2 separate regions of the Homo sapiens genome follow, and region 1 is linked to region 2. Evidence: promoter capture Hi-C in 16 types of primary human blood cells and fetal thymus (Javierre and others, 2016). All regions are on one chromosome and are shown on one strand. Each heading gives the region's core, a stretch centred on a gene start or on the middle of the fragment in contact. The rest is flanking DNA. Distances are from core to core; before and after follow the strand shown.

Region 1 (3,673 bases), core at 703-3,202, 120 kb before region 2:
GTGGAGGTGCTAAATAAGCATTTGTGGAAAGAAGAGAGTACAGGAGGCTTCTTAATATAGGCCCTGCTGATTGGAGAAGAGATATGGGTGTGGCTATGCTTATCGGGTTCAAAATGTTACTATTGACCTAAAAGTCAAGGCCTCTATTTTGAATGTCAGTGTCCTACTGTGATTTTATGCTACAGTTTTACAAGATGTTACTCATTGGGAGAAACTGGGTAAGGGGTATATAGGATCTAAATATTATTCCTTACAACTACATGTGAATTTACAATTATGTCAAAATAAACATTTAATTTTAAAAAGTCAAGACACAAGACCCATAGTCAATAATAAAAGAGAATTTGAGAATTATGGAGGAAAACAAATCAAGACCTCTGTTCAAGTATAAAGTTTGGAGTCTTCTTTAGCTATCATAACTGTCATTATAATATTTGAAAGTAAATATTCGTTGTGTGGGAAATATTCTGGCATTAAATATGTTAAGACTGTCCCCAAAAGTAATTCATTGAACTCTCTGGCCAATATAGTCTACAATGGATCTCAGCCAATGCTTAGAGTGAAATGTACAACAAAGAACAAGAGTGATTTCAAATGAGCTAATAACAAAATCTGCTAAGAGAACTAGAACAGAACCTGTCAGCATATTCTCATACTCTTTTGCCAAGCACAATCACTTCTCTACCCTACCTACCTAGTACCCACATCCTGGAATCATTTCCTCCCCTTATAGAGGTAGCAAAGAAGCCTTAGCTAAGTGGAACCTCAGTTAGGAGTCAGCTTTATATTATTACATCTGATTGTTGGTGTCTTGACCTGCTTACTTTTCTGCCTGACCCTTTTGATACCTACCTGAAGCTTCACTGAACTTGATGCTTCAGGTGATGTCCTATTCATCTTCTTTGGAGCACTTACTACAATTGTTATTTATAAGATGACTTAATGTTTGCCTTCTCCTCCAGACTGCTAAGTCCCACGTAGGTAGAAACTGTGTCTACTTCATCACTAGTCTCTTGTGCCTGGCAGAGTGCTCAGTACACATTAGGCATTTCACATCTATTTGTTGACAGAATTAATGAACTTCAGCTTGCATAACTGGTTTCTGATATCATTAATGTTTCTATCCTGCATACTCCTCAACTCTTGCTTTGACCTTCCAGATGTCTGACCTGCTTCCTACTCTAACCTCTTAATAATGCCTGGCTTTTCCAGTCCTAACATACACCTGGTATTCCTTATCCTGTTGCTGTTAACATAACAAATAGAAATGTAATACTTAATAAACTTTTGCCCATTTTTTTCTTTTCATATACCACTTGTTATACATTCTCAGAAAGATAAAACATAATAAATGTGAATTAATTTGCTGGGGAGTATCTTTGAACCAGATATTCTTTTTTTTTTTTTTTTTTGAGATGAAGTCTCACTCTGTCACCCAGGCTGGAGTACAGTGGCACAATCTCAGCTGCAACCTCCACCTCCCGGGTTCAAGCGATTCTCCTGCCACAGCCTCCTAGGAGCTGGGACTACAGGTGTGCGCCACCATGCCCAGCTAATTTTTGTATTTTTGGTAGAGACGGGGTTTCACCATATTGGCCAGGCTGGTCTTGAACTCCTGACCTCATGATCCACCTGCCTCAGCCTCCCGAAGTGCTGGGATTACAGGCGTGAGCCACCATGCCCAGCCTGAACCAGACACTCTTCTAAACACCTTATATCTATTAGCTTATTTAATCCTTGTAACAACCTGTGAAGGTAGATACCATCATTACCTCCATATTACAGATGAAGAAACTGAGATATAGACAGATTAAGCAACTTGCCCAGGGTCGTACTGCTAGTAAGTGGTGAAGCCAGTATCTCCCCCAGGTAGTCTGGCTCCAGAGCCTATGCTTTAAAATATTACACTTTTTTACAAAAGCATTCACCTAGAAAAATTACAAAGCCCATGTATTTGCCCTGTTGCAATACTGGACAACCCACATCATTTTACTATTGCCAAAGCTCCAAATGTATAATTCAGAAAACCAGAACCTTACCACCCGCAGTGATCTCACTCCAACAACGTCCAGGAAAGATATAGCTCCACAGTCAAGCACAAGGCTATGGATTGGCACTTTGGGAACGTTCACTTTGACTGGAAGCTCAGAGTTCCAATCCACTTGAATCTCTATTTCCTTGGTTGGGATATCAAGTTCCTCCAGATCTTCAATATCCTCATCAGGCTCAAAAGCATTATTTGTTGAAACAGCATCACTTATGATGCCATTCTAAACGAAGAAAACACTGTCAACTTAATTGTCAAAGATTTGAAATCTTTCAACCATTCATATCAAATTATCCAAAAGACCTACACACTGTTCCTTGGTAAGCAAGACATCAAGGAGATGAATTTTTAAGGATGGGTTTCACCTCAGCCCAAACTTTGATGTTGTCTAGGAAGAAAACTGGGAGAACAGAGGAGCCAGGAAACTTTTGTTTTCTGGATGATTGTGGAACTTTGCCAAGAAATACACTGGCCAGAAGAATCTGAGTAAAAGTTAACAGCTCCAAAAGTTTATGGACTTAGACTGCCTTCTATGGTGGGTAGTTTTCTGGCATTGAATTTGCACTTATTTTGTTCCTTTCAGTAAAAATAAAGTATAGAAAATAATGCAGACACTGTTCATGGTGGGGAAAAAAATCACATCCTGTGTTTCCAGGCAGCGCTGCTGATTTTATTTCATTCCCTTCCACTCCCGCTTGCCTATAAGAATAGCTCAGTTGTTCTTTGATACGTACATGTCATTTGTTCATTCACATCTGGATACTAAAGAGGATAGATTTAATTTTAGACCCTCTAACTGCTCTCATCAGGGAAAGGAAATAATTTAAGGGGGAAAAGAAAGATGTCATCTCACCTTTGTTGCTCTTAATTGTCCACTTTTTATTAGTTTCTGTATTTTCCTCAGCGCTTTCAGCCTCTTATTATATACTCTAATGGCATCAAATCCAACCTTTGGAAATAAATGTCAAGTTACTTAAAATGCCTGGCACCTAAAGCTTATTAATGGCAACTGTTATCTGGAAAGGCTATTTCTCAAAGGGTATAATTCCTTGAGCTATCCTGCCAAAAAAGAAATTGTAAGGTCTGATGGAGTAGATCTCTGTCTACTCCCAGGCTACCCTACTCCTACCCAGAAGCTCTGAGAAGACAGTAGCATATCAAAGGCTCCAAGACAGTAAAAGACAAAACAGAAACACACACACACCCCAAAATACCCTCTTTAGTTTAAGTCTGGGTTTTCCAAATTCCCTTGGTATCACAGAGCCCTTTTGTTATTGCAAAATCTGTGAACATTCCTCTGAATCAGTTTGCCCTGGAACTCACTTAGAAAAACACTGATTTAGAGGCAAACTCCAAGTTCAAAGCATAGCATGGCATTTGGTGCCAGGATTTTCTACTTATTTATTCCACTAGTATATTTTACTTTTTGCTGCAACTGGGCAACCCTACCTCCAATACATGTTTCCACTGTCTCTCAGCTCACATAGTTCTCAAACACTTGACATGATTTCTTTCCTTCAGCCAACTGCCGCACAAAGCCTGTTAGTCCAACTAACCTGGATCTCTTCCTTCTATGAACTCTCAACTGTCTATACTACTTATTTGAAACTTACTCAAATTCTGCCT
Region 2 (7,551 bases), core at 2,325-4,824:
TAAATACTGAAGTAACATTTTAGTAATTGTGTAGCAAGTGAAAATTACAGAAATTTAATTTTAAAATTTATTAATTCTGACATGACAGAATATCTCATGAATTAAAAAACAACTCTTTCAAATTTAATAATAACCTGATATTTGATTATCCTCTGTCTGGTGGCTTAAATATTCTAAAAGTAAACCATACATGAGCAAAACCTTAAAAAGGAATTCTTGCAGTAGTAAAATATTATATTGTTGATAGAAGCTACTACTCTGTATCTTTTTCATGGTCAGAGAAATGACTTAGAAATAAAGATATATTGTTCTAACAATTGGCAACATTTCAGGAGTGGGGTCTAACTCTGCATACTGATTTTTATATAGTACAATTTTAACGTATACTCCAACTAAAAGTTTCTCTACTTTAACCATGAGGGAATTATAAAAACTACCCAGGTATTATACACATAAATTGAAAAAATCTTAAATATGTAGCTTGATAATTTTCACACACACACTATATATATATATATAAAACCATGTAATTACTACAGATAAAGATGTGAACATAGAGGAAATGAGATGGGGAAATAGTCTAGGTGGATTGAACAGTATAAACAAAGACAGTGGTAAGAAAGCATGGGTTATAAATGGCAAAGTGGCAAAATAATCCATCACGCAATAGGAAAGGTAACAAACTTTGTACAAGGGCAATTTAAATGAGTAACACTTTAGTTGAAAGGAGGCAGAAAAATGTAGTAAGCACTTAAATAGCTTCAAGCACTTACAACTTGAAAAAAACAGTTTCACTTTAAGATTAGGACACATTTAAGATTTAAGATTAGGACAACTTCAAGTAACTACTTGAAATTGGTGGGTTGAGGGAGATTCATACAGATGAATCGGTTCATTTTGTCTCTGCTTCCAAGTCCAAGCATTTTATACAGCCAATATTTAAATTATGCAATATAAAATTTTATATTTTTAAGAGAACATAAGTGGTAATACCTTGATCTAGGTCCAAATGTAAATTTACTTATTTCTTCAAGGTTTGGTGTGGTGTAAAAGGGAATGTAAGAGATCTCTCATAGGGAACAACTAGCAGTTGAGCACCTTATCATAGCTAATACCTATTGTGTTCTCACTATATTATGGTTCTAAGTACTTTTACATGTTTTATCTCATTTAATTACAACAACTACCGTAAGGGGTAGACACTAGTACTACCTCCATTTTACAGATGGGGAAACAGATCAGAGAGGATCAAGAGCATGCCCAAGGTTAGTAACATGCAGTTATAGGTGACCTGATTTCTGAGCATGTGCCTTTAACCACTGGGTTATGTAAGAAAATAATAGAGACTAAATGATGAAATATTTTCTTTAAAGATTATGGTGATACAAATATAAAAGATAAAAAGATGTGGATACACACATAGGACATATTGTAAATGATCTGCGTGCATACATACCGTATTTTCTTTATATCTGTACATGAGAACACATTTATATATCATATGCAAATATACACACATCTATCTAATAGCTACTTGATCAGGATGGGTAAAATTTTTATTTGGCAGGAAGAAAAATATTGATCCATAAGTTACAGATCACTCTGATGGAGTAAAGATCAACTGACAATTTTTCCTTCTTTGCAAACCCTTAAGCCTTATCTATAAATTAGATGTTTATATACAAAATCTTTCTTTCTCTTGAGTATATAGGATTCTATCATTGCAAATATTACCAAAAAGCAAAACAGGGTGTTACTGAGTTTGAAACAAAACCTACAGGATGAGAGGCAGCATGATGGAGTAGAAAGAACACTGGACTAAGAGCCAGATTTTTTTCTAGAATCTGTCACTTACCAGCTAGGTAACCGTAGGCTACTTGCCCTCCTGGGTCTCAGTACGTGATATATAGAACATGGGTGGAATGGATCAAATAAGATCAAAGACCCTACAGTATGATTCAATTTTTTTTCTTTAGTAAGAAACAACTTACTGAGCTTAGCTTAGCTGATAGAGAAGGACAGAAGAGAGCAGAAATCCAGGCAGGTAAGGAGCAAGTTAGGAGTTGTGAAAGACTATCTGGACCCTGAGCTAAGGTGAAACTTTAAGAAGTTTCTCCCAGTCCTGGGATTTTAATACACTTTAGTGGGTTATCTCTAGGATCTCACTTATGAAATACTTTCTTTTATGCCAGGAGTATGAACAAATATCTTGCAATATTTTTATTACATGTGTATTTCCCCATTCATACTATCAAATTTCTGGATCTAAAATTAAACGACTAAAAAGTAGATTACTGCAAGGGTAAAATGAACCACTGCTTGGCTTGAAACACTGTACTTGGTTCTTCAAGACCTTAGAAGTTCCGTCACTAACGAACTAATGCTAATACATGGTTGTGATACTTTTCACATTCAGCACTTTTAATATACATTCATTAATTTTATGTGAAATCAAAAGTAGTAAAATTGTCATTAATGAAACTAACGGTTACAAAGGCGAAAACTAAGAATAATTTATTGGCTTTGGTTTCTAAATTGCTGTTCCAGTGCCTCAGTGAAACACTTTTACACCCATGCTGTACTGTAAACATGATTTATCCACTTATATTTATTTAGTTCATGGCTCCAATTCAGGGCAATAAAACAAAGGTAAAACCTGAGACAAGGCAGGGCAGGTGTTAAAAGTATAATCGTTGCTTTATTATATCTGTAATCAACAGAATCAAAAGTATAGGCGCCTTTTCTTTTAGAAGGGAAGAAAAAGTTATTTCACTTGTACACGTAACAGAGTTTTATATAAAATGTTATTTTAATATTGTCATTATATACTACCTAATTCGTTAGGTGAGTTTATTTTCAAAGACTTTCGAAACTTTTTAATGTTCAGAAAACTTTTTCCATTTTACATTAAGAGCGATCCAATATTTATTAGTTAACGATTTGAAGGTTTCCTACCTCTGAGGAGGAATAAAAGGTAGGCAGAAGATTAAAATGAGTCCTATTTCGGCATAAAGAAAGGTTGCCACTGCAGCCCATTGGAGTGTCATTTTTTTCTTCACACCTAAATGGAAAAACACTTATTTTCTCTTGCTTCCTTTCAAACAAAACCGGGTTCAAGGCCCCGAGGCGCAGCGTTTTTGTCCAGGGGATGGACAGTGTTCCACCTTCCCCCACCTGGGAAGGCAAGCACGGACCCCGGTCAGGAAGGGGAAAAGGGTGGCCCGGGAAGCGGGTGTCGCCACCTCCCTGGGAGTCGTGGGAACTGGCGAGGCGGCTCGCTGGCCACTGCCTTTTCCGCCAGCTTCGCGGCGACAGAAGCCCAACGCCTCCCTCCACCAACGCCCGGCTTCCCGGCCCTCCCGCTCCCAGAAGGCGCCGCGGGCCCTCGACCACCGCGCCGCGGACCGGGCCGGGCCGGGTCGGGCCAGGCCAGCTCCGCGGGGTTCTCCAGACCAGGCAGCGGCGCTCTCCCTCCGCGGCCTACGCCCCACGGGTCCCCGGGTCGCAGAAGCCCTTACCCGCCGGCAGCCCGCCTGGCTCCCTGCGCTGCTCCGCGGCCGCCGACGCGCGGGACGTCAGACGCCGCGGCTGGGCGGGGGAGGGGAGCCAGGGCCCCACCCCGCCTCACGCCCCGCAGGCTCCCGCCCGCGGGTCCGTCCCGGCTGAGGTCACAGGCGGCGCGACCACGTTTATTGGCAACAGTTGTTTTCTAATTGGCGGCAGGTCAGAGAATGAGTTAGACTTTTGACCTGATGCTTGGAGGTCGGAGCGCAACTTCTTCAGGAGGACAGACTTTCCACTGCTAAGTGCGGCCCCGGCGGGAGGGTGCCGGGGTCCAGGTCTAAGGAGCGGCGCCGGGCGGCGGGGCTGGATTGGGTGGTGCAAATTCAGCGAACGCGCTTAAGACGCACTCCTTTCCGGTCACCTACTCTCTCTTCATGGTGGGAACTGTTTGTGTCCAGAATTAAGCTATATTTAATAAAGGGCCAGGATGAGGTGGTCGTGCAGCATTTTGTTCTGGAGAACCTAGGATCAACTGTATGTCACAACATATTCCGTAGGCGTTCCCGTTCCCGTCCATGGGCTGGGAAGAGACAGTAAACTTTACCGTGATGTTTGGGGACTGGTACGAAAGGTGGGTATGGGGATATTCTTTCACTATTTTCCAGCTTTTCAAACTGTGCGTGTACATTTAAGTTGTTGAGTTTTTTCAATATTGACAACGTATCAGGAATTTAATAAAAGTACTATCCTGGTAACAATTATTTGGGGAATAGTAAATAAATGTTGAAAATTGATAATTATAGAATATAAAACATTCAAAAACACATTTAAGTTGGTGCTTTTTCTTAATTTATCACTAATATTCTGGATCACATGTAACAGAAAAAATAGAAAAATAGACTTTGAACATAAATTAACCATAAGGAAGATTTTTTTTTTTTTTTTGAGATGGAGTCTCCCAATGTCGCCCAGGCTGGATTGTGGTGGTGCGATCTCGGCTCACTGTAGCCTCTGCCTCCCAGGTTCAAGTGATTCTCTGGCCCCAGTCTCCAGAGTGGCTGGGATTACAGGCGCCTGCCACCATGCCTAGCTAATTGTTGTATTTTTAGCAGAGACAGGGTTTCACCATGTTGGCCAGGCTGGTCTCGAACTCCTGGACTCAAGTGATCTGCCTGCCTTGGCCTCCCAAACTGTTGGGATTACAGGTGTGAGCCACCGCGCCTAGCCAGGAAGTTACTTTTTTTTTTTTTTTTTTGAGACAGAGTCTTGCTCTGTTGCCCAGGCAGGAGTGCAGTGGCGCAATCTCAGCTCACTGCAAGCTCCACCTCCCAGGTTCACACCATTCTCCTGCCTCAGCCTCCTGAGTAGCTGGGACTATAGGCGCCCGCCACCACGCCCAGCTAATTTTTGTATTTTTAGTAGAGACGGGGTTTCACCGTGTTATCCAGGATGGTCTTGATCTCCTGACCTCGTGATCTGCCCGTCTTGGCCTCCCAAAGTGCTGGGATCACAGGCGTGAGCCACCGCGCCCGGCCAGGAAGTTACTTTTAATCAAAAGTGTTAGAACTTCTTGCCCATCCACGCTGGTTCCTTCCAAACACCGAGCACATTACTCTAGTGATGATGCTGTGCTCACAACACTAGGGTAATTCAATTCAGAGTTCTGACCATACCTCCCTATTTTGTACAGTATTCATAGAAAATGAAACAGCGAGTTATCTTTAAAAAAAAAAATGCATTAACTGAAAAGTGAAAACAGAATGTACTGAGAAAAAAGATGGCACCACAGTGCTTATGTTAAAATGGATTCATTCAATATTCCCAAACGTGAATTAAACAGTTTTACATAATTGTTTCCTTATAACAGTTTTCATGTTGGCAAAACAAAATAATACTTTAATTATGAACGGTTTTATTTCAGTCTGAGATACTTAATTCTTGCAGTGCATGCCCACCGATAACAAAATCTATTAATAACACTCCAAAACCATGGGACTTTAAAGTTACAATCAACGGCTGAGAGGCACAAAAGTAATTAGGTTTTAAAGTTAAAAACAAAACCTGGTTACTATTCTCTAGGAAATATTTCAAATATATAATCATCTCCAGGTTGGACACCAAATTTCCTATACTTAAGATATGGTAGATTGCAATTAATTTTATCTTTTTAGGTAGGAGATTATTAAGCTTTCAATCTTTGGAGGACCTAGAAGTTTTGAAATGTACCAAATTTAATGTCATTAACCAAATGGAATTTTTAATATAAGTTCTGAGTGCAATTCTATTCAGAATTTCCTGTTCTTTTTCATTTTGGATGGATGTTGGTATTTGTTCCACCACTTTTTTGCACCTGCATACTTCTTGTTAATTTATAGATACTATAAGCCATAATTTCTTAGTATTAAATTTTATTTTAAAATGTTAAAAACATGATTAGGAAAAAATTCCCACTCTACCCATCCCCCCAATATCTATAGAACAGGATTCAGAGCAGTATTTGTCAATGTTTGCCTAGGATGATCAGGATGTTTGAACCACTGGGAGTTTTCTTTAAACTGTGTATTTCTGGGTCTACTCCAGATCTACCTAATCAGAATCTCTGAGGGTGGTGTCTACAACTGATTTTTAAAAAACGCTCCCAGGAATTGTTTTTATACTAAAATTTGAGAGCTACTGGTTTAAGGTACAAAATATGACCTTCTGTGGTTTCACTGTGGGTCTAAAAGTATATATTAAAATTATTTGGGAAGTCTAGTCAAATGCCATAATGGTCTGTAAGGTAATCTATGATTGCTGATGTGCTTGACAGAGCATTAAATACCCTTTTTTCCTGCCTTGAAGTTATCTTTTCCATCATGTACATTAAATGTTGATGGAAACACATGTAAGGAGTCCCGAGTTCAAGAGCAATGTCAACCCAGTCCCAGATGCATTTCAGTGGGGTTTCCTCATATCCAGCAAACATGGCCGGGTTTGCTAAGAGTCCTCTTGCAACCATCACACCTACAAATTAAAGCACACCATATTTGTCCATACATTAAGAACCCCTGGTTATTAGTTCAAGCTCAATGAAGCAAACAGTATATTTTTAAAAAGTATTATCACAAGGTTTTGTAATGTCTTTATTGCATTAATATGTTTAATCCGATTACAAAAGAATTAATTTTGGTACCTTTTGTAAACCAGGAAAGTTTAAATGTACGTACAGAAATCTTTATTTTTTAAAGATTTCTACATTAAACCATTAGTCTTTAGTTTTTCTTTAGGGTAAATCTGGATTGTCATAAATTGGGCTGCTTAAAGTTCAGTTTATCTATATTCTCCCATCTAGCAATTATAGGGCTTGGCATGCCAATAATTTAAGGGAATAATGAAACTGCATAGCAGTTCTGGGATTCCTTTAGCTCTTATCATTCTCGAGTTCACTTACTCTTATTTCTAGGTGCTTTATTTTACTAGTAGGCTATCTGGAAAATTCTTCACTGGTCACTAGATATGATGGTGTCAGAAAAGTAACTGAATTAATTTATCCCAGTTAAGATAATCCATGTTTTTCTAGGTAGAAAACTTAACATCATTTTAATAAATCGCTTAGCTTAAAACAGTACAATGGGAAAATATGGCTTAATGTTAAACAAAACAAATGAAAATCAAATTAACATTACTTCCCCACTCTCATTTCTTCCCCCCCCAATTAAAAGAACCCAAGTACTTATTTCTTACCATCTGTCCCAGTAATCCGCCACACATTTTCTGCTTCCTTTAAGCTTCTGATGTCTCCATTAGCAATTACAGGTATAGACATATTTTCCTTAATTATTTTAATGGAATCATAGTGCACTGGCTGATGTCTTTCTTCAGCAGTTCTTCCATGGACTGTAATCCATGAAACTCCTGTTGCTTCAGCCTTTTGACAAAGATCTACAGTTCTTTTAAGGTCATCATGGATCCTACAATTTCAAAATTACATTTATCTGTTCACAGCACACAAATCTTAATGCTAACATTAACTGACTAAAATGGTATTTCATCTACCAAATTAGTTAG

The links. Contacts are between HindIII fragments. The CHiCAGO score rates a contact against its expected background, and 5 or more counts as called.
Region 1: a fragment that was not itself captured here is called in contact with the fragment with the promoter of BCAP29 in region 2 in 1 of 17 cell types (naive B cells); the score reaches 5.6 in naive B cells.

What each region holds. Positions count from the first base shown.
Region 1 is chr7:107,700,424-107,704,096 of GRCh38, reverse strand. It overlaps SLC26A4 (solute carrier family 26 member 4), which reads right to left. Exons shown (of 21, transcript NM_000441.2): 16 at 2,901-2,996; 17 at 2,040-2,270. Among named protein-coding and RNA genes, the nearest start is that of SLC26A4-AS1, 40 kb to the right of the region's middle. The HindIII fragment of the contact is 2,184 bases long and covers 861-3,044 here.
Region 2 is chr7:107,576,269-107,583,819 of GRCh38, reverse strand. BCAP29 (B cell receptor associated protein 29) reads right to left here and starts at 3,574. Exons shown (of 8, transcript NM_018844.4): 1 at 3,519-3,574; 2 at 2,956-3,061. The coding sequence starts at 3,047. It overlaps DUS4L-BCAP29 (DUS4L-BCAP29 readthrough), which reads right to left. Exons shown (of 13, transcript NR_163941.2): 6 at 7,228-7,454; 7 at 2,956-3,061. DUS4L (dihydrouridine synthase 4 like) reads right to left here. Exons shown (of 8, transcript NM_181581.3): 7 at 7,228-7,454; 8 at 5,297-6,507. The coding sequence ends at 6,260. RefSeq lists an enhancer at 3,067-3,136 and a silencer at 3,227-3,716. The HindIII fragment of the contact is 6,036 bases long and covers 1-5,693 here.